Regions from separate parts of the Homo sapiens genome. Here region 2 is linked to region 1. The links are contacts of gene promoters, found by promoter capture Hi-C in blood cells and fetal thymus (Javierre and others, 2016). All regions are on one chromosome and are shown on one strand. The core of a region is centred on a gene start or on the middle of the fragment in contact, and the rest is flanking DNA. Distances in the headings are between cores, read along the strand shown. Region 1 holds the start of KRTAP12-1 (keratin associated protein 12-1). Region 2 holds the start of KRTAP10-4 (keratin associated protein 10-4).

Region 1 (4,765 bases), core at 1,221-3,720:
GTCCACGTTGCCTGCAGCGCACATCTGCAGGGGAGGATTTCTCCCAGCTTTTGTTCCTCTGAACAGATTTTCACTTCAATCTCAGTTTCTGGGGTTTTTTGAGACCCTTCTTGCTTGGTCACCCAGGCTGAAGTGTGATGGTGCAGTCATAGCTCACTGCAGCTTCGAACTCCTGGGCTCAAGCTATCCTCCTGCCTCATCCTCCTGAATAGTTGGGACTACAGGTGCACACCGCCACCCCTAGCTAATTTTTAAATTTTCTGTAGAGATGTGCTCTTGCTTGTTGCCTAGGCTGGTCTACAACTCTTGGGCTCAAGTGATCCTCTTGCCTCAGCCTTCAAAGTGCTGGGATTAGAGGTGTGAACCACAGTGCCCGGCCCGGCCTCAGTCTCAGTCTTTAAGCACGTTCTTCATAGATGTAGACTTCCGGATTGCCAGTTATTGTTGCTCAGCATTTTAAAGATGTGTCTCCACTGTTTCTCATGAGAAGCCAGGGCGTTTTTCTTATCCTTGTTCCTTTGTATGTAAAGTGTCTTCCTGTCACTGCTTTTGAGATTTTGTCTTCATTTTTGGTTTTCATCACTTCATGATGTGCCTGGATGTGGTTTTCTTCCTATTTATCCTACTGGGGGCTTTCTGAGATTCCTGGATTTGGACGTTGTTGATTTTTGAAGTCAAATTTGGTGTATTTAAAATTTCTAACTACTGTACTTTTCAGTTCTAGGATTCCCATTTTAAAAAATAGCTTCAATTACTCTACTGAGATTCCCTATTTATCCATTCATGAAGACAATGTTTTCCTTTAATTATTTGAACAGTTTTCTTGGATTTTTTGGAAGATGTCTATAATAGCTGCTTACAGTCATCATTTGCCATGTCCAATATCTAGACCATATCAGGTTTATTTTTTTTAACAGTGAATTAAATTTACCTATATCTTTTAATATCTGATGATTTGTTTTTTGAGACGGGGTCTTGCTCTGTTGCCCTGGCTGGAATGCAGTGGTGTGATCATAACTCATGGCATCCTCAACCTCCCAGGCTCAATAGACCCTCCTGCCTCAACCTACCGTGTAGCTGGGACCACAAGCATGCACCACCATGTCTGGCTAATTTTTAACCATTTTTTTGTAGAGACAGAGTCTCACTATGTTGCCCAGGCTGGTCTGAAACTCCTAGCCTCAAGCAATCTTCCCATCTTGGTCTCCCAAAGTGCTGGGATTACAGGCATAAACAACCGTGCCTGGTCAATATCTGATGATTTTGATTGTGTATGAGGTATCATAATAATGCATTTACAGACTCTGAGCTGTATCATGTTTCTGATTTTTGTTCTAGCCGTCAGTTACTGGAGAATGACCTTAATCTTGTGCAGTTTTTGTTCAACACTTTGCTAGGGTGGATCTCTGGGAAGCATCTACAACTTGGAACACTCTGTATCTTGGTGGGACTCACATTCCAAACTGTCTTCCCTAAAAATCCTATTCTGAATTGGTTTAGGCTTTGTTCGGGCTGGCCTAGGCGGGTCTCACTGTAGTCTGTGGTCCTTACTCATTTGGTGCCGGGCTGTAGGGGGTCTCGGCTGGATGTCGACGTGGGGACTGGAGGGGGGCTTCACTCTCAATCCTCTAGCAGCTTCTCTCTGGTGAGCCTGTGGTTGCCTTGCCCTGGGAATGCACAGCCCTGCCCCGTTCCACAGATTCACAGTCAGCTTCCACAGTGTGGGGCCTGCTCTCCACACGGATCCTTCTTTCCGCTTCTCTGCTCCTCGGACTCCAGGGCTTCAGCTGCTTGAGCGCTGGCCCCTTCCTCCTCGGCAGAGTTGGGTCACTGTATTCTGCTCTGACTCCGGCTGGTGACACTGCATTTTGGAAGGTGACACTGCATTTTGGAAGCCTGCCCCAGCAGAGAGCTGGGAAATGGGAGTTTATCTCCTAAGTTTCTTCTCTCTCAGGAAGCACAGTCTGCACTGCTGGTTGACGGCTGCCTGAAAACGAGCATCTCCTAAATCTCAACTGTATAGTTGATAGAGTAGCCAGCTTTGCATCACTCACTCCAGCAGGTTCCCCAGTATGATTTCATTGTCTATATTCAGTTCTGGTCTCTTCCCCAAAGTTTCTGGTTGATGCAACAGAAGTTGCGGTTCGAGGAGCTCTTTTGGGTACCACTCATGTCTGCTTCAGCGTAGAACTAACGAAGGGAGGCAGATATCAGGCAGGTGGAGCTAAAACTGCCTGTGCATCACTGATAAATTTGGGCAGGTTTCCAAATGTAACAAGAGCTTGAAGAGGGTGCAATTAGTCACGAAACAAAGGGCCAGATAAAAAACATCATCTACGACAGAAAACTGAGTTCCAGGAAACAGCCTTGAGGAAGAAAAACAAGGAAGACAACAGGTGTGTGCTTCTGTGCTGTGGGGATGCCTGGGTCCAGGTATAAAGGCTACCCAGGGAGGCCATCCCCAGACATCACTGCCCTCTGCCTCGACCTTATCCAGCCACACGCCACCATGTGCCACACCAGCTGCTCCTCGGGCTGCCAGCCAGCCTGCTGCGCGCCCAGCCCCTGCCAGGCATCCTGTTACATCCCCGTGGGCTGCCAGTCCTCCGTGTGCGTGCCCGTGAGCTTCAAGCCAGCCGTGTGTGTGCCCGTGAGATGCCAGTCCTCTGTGTGCGTGCCCGTGAGCTGCAGGCCCGTCGTGTATGCGGCTCCCTCCTGCCAGTCCTCTGGGTGCTGCCAGCCTTCCTGCACCAGCGTCCTCTGCAGACCCATCTCCTGCAGCACCCCTTCCTGCTGCTGAGCATGAATCTCCAGACCCGCTGCTCCCAGTGCAGATGAGGCCACACCTGTACACTCCCTGGATGAGTCCTCAGTTGGTCTTCTGCACATGGTGCAGGTGAAAAGCATGCTCAGTGAACCCTCTGAATTCTGGATCGAGAATATAATAGAATGATCTGGAGCCCTGGCTGAACTTGCCTATCCCCCCAGGGAAGTCTGGGGTCCCAGAGTCATTCTCTGACCCCATGAGAGTCAAATAAACCAGCTTTCCCCATGCAACTCTGCGTTTCTTGTCTCTCTTTTTTATTTCTATACTCCCCGCTATCTATTCTGCTGATTACATAGAATTTGCTGCTAAACCCTCTTCAGTGATCCCTTCACCCAGTGCTCATCAGAAGGTGGTGTCCCGGGTGGAGGGCGCGGCTGCAGATGCCCATGTGGTCTCTCCCAGGGCTCCTGGGGCCCAGCTGCAGTGGCCACAGCGGTGACTTACCCGCCTGTGGTGGAGTGGCCTCGCTTCCCCACTGGCTGTCCACTCCTGCTCCAGGCCAGCAAGCCCTGCATTGATGGCCAAAGCCTCAGAGCACTGAGGATCGGGCTTTCCCATGTGGTTGGTGGATGTCCTGCTTCCCGGGTCGCGGAGGATCTCAGGTTTACAGAACTGGATTAGTTCTGCAGCACACACTCCCATCACTGATCTACATATGGCACTTTTTAAAAATTGATACATAATATGTTTACATATTTATGGGGCATATGAAATACTTTACACACAGAGGATACGTAATGATGAAATCAGGATATTCATCACCTTGTCTATCATTTCTCTGTGTTGAGGACATTTTACACTCTCTCTTCTAGCTGATTTGAGACATACAATACATTGTTAACTGTAGTCACCCTATGCTGCTATCAAATATTAGAACTTATTCTTTCTGTGTAACTGTATGTTTGTACCCATTAACCAAACTCACTTCTCCTCTAACACACACCGTTCTTCACCTCTGGTAATATCATTCTACTCTCTACTTCCATGAGATCAACTTTGTGAACTCCCACATGTGAGTGAGAACATGTAATATTTGTCTTTAATGACCTTCGGTTCCATCCATGTTGCTGCAAATGGCAGGACTTCATTCTTTTTTATGGCCGAATAAGATTCCATTGTAAATATATACCACAGTTTCTTGATTCATTTATTTATTGATAGACATTTAGGTTGAATCTGTATCTTGGCTATTGTGAATAGTGCTGCAATAAACATGGGGGTGCAGGTATCTTTTTGATACACCAATTCCCTATCCTTTGAATAAATAGTAGCAGGATTGCTGGATAGTATGGTAGTTTTATTTTAGTTTTCTGAGAAATCTGTATACCGTTTTTGATAATGGCTGTACTAATTTACACTTCCACAAATGATGTATAAGAGTTCCCTTTTCTCCACATCTTTACCAGCATCTGTTATTTTTTGTCTTTTTGATAATAGCCATTCTAATTGGGGTAAGATGATGCTATCTCATTGTAGTTTTGATCTGAAGTTCCCTGATGATTAGTGATGTTGAGTTTTTTTTAATATACCTGTTGGCCATTTGTATGTCTTCTTTTGAGAGATGCCTATTCAGGTGCTTTGCCCATTTATTAATGGAATTATTTGTTTTGTTGTTGTTGTTGAGTTGTTTGAGTTCCTTACATATTCTGGATATTAGTCACTTGTCAGATGCATAGTTTACAAATATTTTCTCCCATTACACAGGTTGTCTCTTCACTCTGTTGATTGTTCCGTTTGCTGTGCAGAGCTTTTCAGTTTAATATAATCTCATTTGTCTATTTTGGTTTTTGTTGCCTGTGTTTTTGTAGTCTTAGCCATAAACTGTTTGCCTAGACCAATGTCCTGGAGCATTTCATTTATGTTTTCTTCTAGTAGCTTTATGGTTTTCGGTCTTATGTTTAAGGCTTTGATACATCTTGAGTTGATTTCTGTATATGA
Region 2 (4,765 bases), core at 684-3,183, 110 kb after region 1:
ATTTGACAAGTATTGTGCAGCAGAAGGATAATTTAAAAAGCAAATCAGCAAAAAGAACTATGACACGACTAACAACACAGGAGGGTTAGGGACAAACCCAAGGGCCCGAAATGGCCAAAGGGCTGCAAGGCTCCCCGCGTCCATGTCCGTCTAGCCTGGACCCCTGGGAACCACACGCCCCTGGGCACAGGAAAACACTCAGGGGCCTGAAGGACAGCAGAGGGTTGTGCACAAAGGAGAAAACCATGGCCGTGAGCTCCAGCCAAGGCATTAATCAACACACCTGGGTGTCAGCGCCATTGCAGTCTCAGGGCCTTTATTGGTCAGCTTGAGGGCGTCCAAAGAAGGCTCTGCGGCTCTGAGCCAGGAGGACAGAGACCTCACGGGTCAAGGCTGAACTGACCCTCATGAGAGGTGGGAGATATGGAGGGGAGGCCACTGCCATGGGAACTTTCTAGAAGCGCCCCCCTCCCCCCGCAAGAGGGCTGCAGCATTGAGTATAGACTTTCAGTTCTTCCATTGTCCAGCTCAACAGCAGACACCAGGAAATGGTCAAAGTGCAGGAGCAATTCAGGACGCGACTATCAGCTTTCAGGTGGGACCTGAGCCTGGCTGGCACTGGGGGGCGTGTCCATCAGCAGCTGGGCTTCTGACCTGAGCGGAGGCCTCAGCAGGCTGGGCGGGAGCACACGGGGCGTCAGAGGAGGGACACGCAGGAGGCTGGGCGGCAGCAGCTGGGTTGGCAGGAGGAGGTGGGAGCACAGCAGGAAGGGACGGGCACGCAGCAGGCGGGCCTGCACACGGGGCGGCAGAGGAGGGACACGGAGGAGGAGGGTCTGCAGCAGGAGGTGGTGCAGCAAGCTGGCTGGCAGCTAGATTGCTGGCAGCATGAAGAGGAAGCCCCAGAGCAAACAGGCACACAGCTCACAGGCTTGCAGCAGACGGGCACGCAGCAGCCCTGCTGGCTTTGGGAGGAGGTGCAGCAAGCTGGCTGGCAGCTAGACTGCTGGCAGCACAGAGAGGAAGCCCCAGAGCAGATGGGCACAGAGCAGACAGGCTTGCAGCACACAGGCTTGCAGCAGACAGGCACACAGCAAGCCTGCTGGCAGGGAGAGGAGGTGCAGCAAGCCGGCTGGCAGCTAGACTGCTGGCAGCATGAAGAGGAATCCTCAGAGCACACAGGCTTGCAGCAGACAGTCTTGCAGCAGACGGGCACGCAGCAGGCCTGCTGGCAGGAGGAGGAGGTGCAGCAAGCCGGCTGGCAGCTAGACTGCTGGCAGCACGAGGGCGTGCAGGAGCTGATGCAGCCTGATTGGCAGGGGCTGGGCTCACAGACCGCCTGGCAGCAGGGGCTGGACACACAGCTCACACAGCTAGACTGCTGGCAGCACGAAGAGGAAATCCCAGAGCAGACAGGCTTGCAGCAGATGGGCACACAGCAGGCCTGCTGGCAGGGGGAGGAGGTGCAGCAAGCTGACTGGCAGCTAGACTGCTGGCAGCATGAAGAATCCCCACAGCAGACGGGCACACAGCACACAGGCTTGCAGCAGACAGTCTTGCAGCAGACGGGCACGCAGCAGGCCTGCTGGCAGGGGGAGGAGGCACAGCAAGCCAGCTGGCAGCTAGACTGCTGGCAGCACGAGGGCGTGCAGGAGCTGGTGCAGCCTGATTGGCAGGGGCTGGGCTCACAGGTCACTGGGCAGCAGGGGCTGGACACACGGCTCACTGGGGTGCAGACCAGGCTCAGGCAGGGGGCCGGGGCGCAGCAGCTGGGGGCGCAGCAGGGGGGCTCGCAGCAGCTCTCTGGGCAGTCGTCCACCTGCCAGGAGTCGGAGCAAGAGTCACAGGAACCAGGAAGGCAGACGCGGCTGCTGTAGCTCAGGTCGCTGGAGCAGACGGACATGGTGGATGCTGCTGTGCTGGGGGTTGAGCTGGGGGAGATGGGAGGGAGTGGGTGAGCGAGTGAGTGAGGTGCTCGGGTTTGTGGGGCTTTTATACTCCTCCTTGGTGCATGTTGTCCAGACAGGAGGCTCAGCAAGCCCTCCCTTCCTTGTTGGGGTGTACAGCCAGCTCCAGGAGAATAAACAGTAGCTGTGTTTTTGTTTCCCAAGAGCTGTTGCTCAGTTTACAAAACTTGGAATTGGCCTGGGGCGCATGTGCGTGTTTTAGACTCAGGAGGAAGAGCTGAGGGGCAGTTCAGGCTGTGCTGCTTTGCTCCCCAGGCGCACGTGGAGGGTGGCATGGTCCACGTGTGTGCCGGGCTATGGGGAGTGGGTGCCTGCGGGTGGCTCTGCCGTGTGTGTGCTGGACTATGAGGAGTGGGTGCCTGTGGGTGGCTCTGCCGTGTGTGTGTGCCAGGCTATGGGGAGTGGGTGCCTACGGGTGGCTCCGCTGGGCCTTGGTTTTCTAGGCTGCTGAACAAGATCATGTGCCTCTGTGATTGAAAGCTTAGGGAGAGAGGTTTGTTTGGGTTCTAAGTAAAGATAATGTGAGTCATGGTTTGTATGCTGTAATGTATTCTTTTCCTTGGGCTGCCATGACAAACAGTACCACAAACTGGCTGGTCACACAACAGAAATTCCGTGTCTCATGGTTTTGGAAGCCAGAAGTCTGAGATCGAGGTGTGGACAGTGGACAGCATGGGTTCCTTCTGAGGCTGCGAGGGGCACTGTCTCACCCCGCTCCCCTCACTCCTGTGGGCTGCTGCTATCTTTGGGGTCCTTGGCTTACAGTGGCCTCACCTGAGCTCTGCCTTTATCTTCACACAGCTTCTCCGTGTGTGTGTGTGTGTGTGTGTGTGTGTGTGTGTGTGTGTGTGTGTGTGTGTCCAAATCTCCCCTTTTTATAAGGATACAAAGCATTATTGCAGTAGGGCCTATCCTAACAGCCTCCTCTTAACTTGATCACCTACAAAGACCCTATTTCCATATAGGGTCACATTCACATGTACCAGCGGTCAGGACTTCGGCACCTTTTGAGGGACACAATTCAATCCACAGCAAGCAGACACAATGGCAGAACCTGGGATGAGGACGTGGGCACGGGAGCAGAACCCGGGATGGGAAGGCAAGCACGGCAGAAGTGTTTCTTGTGGACTTGGGCCTGGGGCAGGTGGAGCATGGGGGGTGGCGAGGGTAGCACAGGACAGCAGGTGCCCAGCACTGGGCACTCAGCAGCCTTTGCTTGTGAGGTGTGGCTTGACCTCGTGGAATGGTTTTAGGGAATAGTGGCTGAAAAGCGGGGTTCACATCGCCCTTTGCCAGCTTCCCGACACCACCGCAGGTTGGTTCCCAGCTCTGAGAAAGCAGCGCTGCTCTGTTTCTTCTCAGCCAGGACGGTCTTTAGGCAGCTGCACCAACTTCCGGTGGGTCCTGCTCAGGACCCCACATGGCGTTGGCTGAAAGGTCTCCTCGACTTCTCTGGTTTGTGACGGTTGCCCAATCTCTCCTTGGCCTCAGCGACCTTGACCGGTTGGGTGTTTTGTAGAATGCCCCTCCACGTGGACTTGCTTGAGGTTTCCTCGTGGTCAGAGTGGGCATCGCGTTGGGGGAGGAATCCCACAGGAGCAGTGTGCGTGGGGCATGGAGGTGACACGGCCGCGGCCCATCCCTCGCGGTGCCGCCGTTTCCCTCTGTAATTGGTCATGTCTGAGACTTGGCAGCTGTCCTGCGTCTGCCCAGGCGTTTGCCCGGCAGTGCTGGTGCCCCTCCGGGGGCCTCGCCCGCACGGTCCCTGTGGGGCTCTGTTGAGGATTCTCCTCCCTGCCTTGTTCCTTCCACACTTACTAATTGAAATTCTCCCGGGAGGAGGAGCTGTCCCGCTCTTCTGTGTGTCTATTTGCTTCCTTATTTATTTATCTATGTGTGGACTAAAGAATGTTTATCTATTACTTGAGCTATAATCCAATATGATCACTATGTATTTTGTGGTTGCAGTGGTTCCAACTTCGGCCCTCAAGTCCTTTCGTTTTGGCCCTGGTGCCCTTTCAACACGCTGTCCCTCCCTGACCTTTCTTACTTTTGGGTCCAAGTTCATCTCAGATTTGCCCTGTTTCATCCCTGGAATCAGACGCTTCTCTAGGAAGCCCTGCTTCCTCTTGGTGGACGAAGGCATTTAGAAACCAAAATCTGGAGCAAGGTGTGCTCACACTACTGGGGTGTTGCTTTCCCAGCCCTCCCAGGAGACAGAGCAAGGAGGCTGGCATGTGCATTAACACCCACCTGATCTTAGAGGGAGGGGTTTCCCCACTAAGAATCGTGTTGGTGCTGGTTTTTCCAGACTAGTGTTATCTGGTCTGAAATGTTCCCCTCTAGGCTGGATGTGGTGGCTCATGCCTGTAATTCCAGCACTTTGGGAGGCCAAGGCAGGAGGATTATTTAAGGCCAGGAGTTTGAGATCAGCCTGGGCAACATAGCCAGACCCCATCTCTACAACGTATTGTCCTTTTTACATGTTGCTGGATTGTATTTGCTAATATTTTATTGAGGATTTTGGTTGGTCTGTAGTTTTCTCTTATTGCAATGCCTTTGCCTGGTTTGGTAACACTGCCTTCATGAAAAGAGTTGGTGTTTTCTCCTATTCTATCTTCTGAAAGAGATGATGTAGAATTGACATTTTTTCTTCTTTAAAGGGTTGGTAGTATTTTCCAGGAAACTGTAGTTTTTCTGTGTTGGAAGGTGTCCTTTATTAGATATTGGACCTCCCAATTATCTTTTCTTCTTTAATAAGTTCTGGTATTTGCGCCTATCAAGGAATTGGTCCACAT

What was found. The method cuts DNA at HindIII sites, captures the fragments that hold promoters and counts their contacts. A CHiCAGO score of 5 or more calls a contact.
Region 2: the fragment with the promoter of KRTAP10-4 here is called in contact with the fragment with the promoter of KRTAP12-1 in region 1 in 1 of 17 cell types (naive CD8 T cells); the score reaches 5.2 in naive CD8 T cells.

Annotation. Positions count from the first base shown.
Region 1 is chr21:44,679,868-44,684,632 of GRCh38, reverse strand. KRTAP12-1 (keratin associated protein 12-1) reads left to right here and starts at 2,470. Exons shown (of 1, transcript NM_181686.2): 1 at 2,470-3,057. The coding sequence starts at 2,510. The coding sequence ends at 2,800. All of the region lies in intron 1 of TSPEAR (thrombospondin type laminin G domain and EAR repeats), which reads left to right. The HindIII fragment of the contact is 12,382 bases long and covers 1-4,765 here.
Region 2 is chr21:44,570,897-44,575,661 of GRCh38, reverse strand. KRTAP10-4 (keratin associated protein 10-4) reads right to left here and starts at 1,933. Exons shown (of 1, transcript NM_198687.2): 1 at 291-1,933. The coding sequence starts at 1,903. The coding sequence ends at 698. All of the region lies in intron 1 of TSPEAR (thrombospondin type laminin G domain and EAR repeats), which reads left to right. RefSeq lists enhancers at 682-1,200, 1,201-1,718. The HindIII fragment of the contact is 4,220 bases long and covers 1-2,449 here.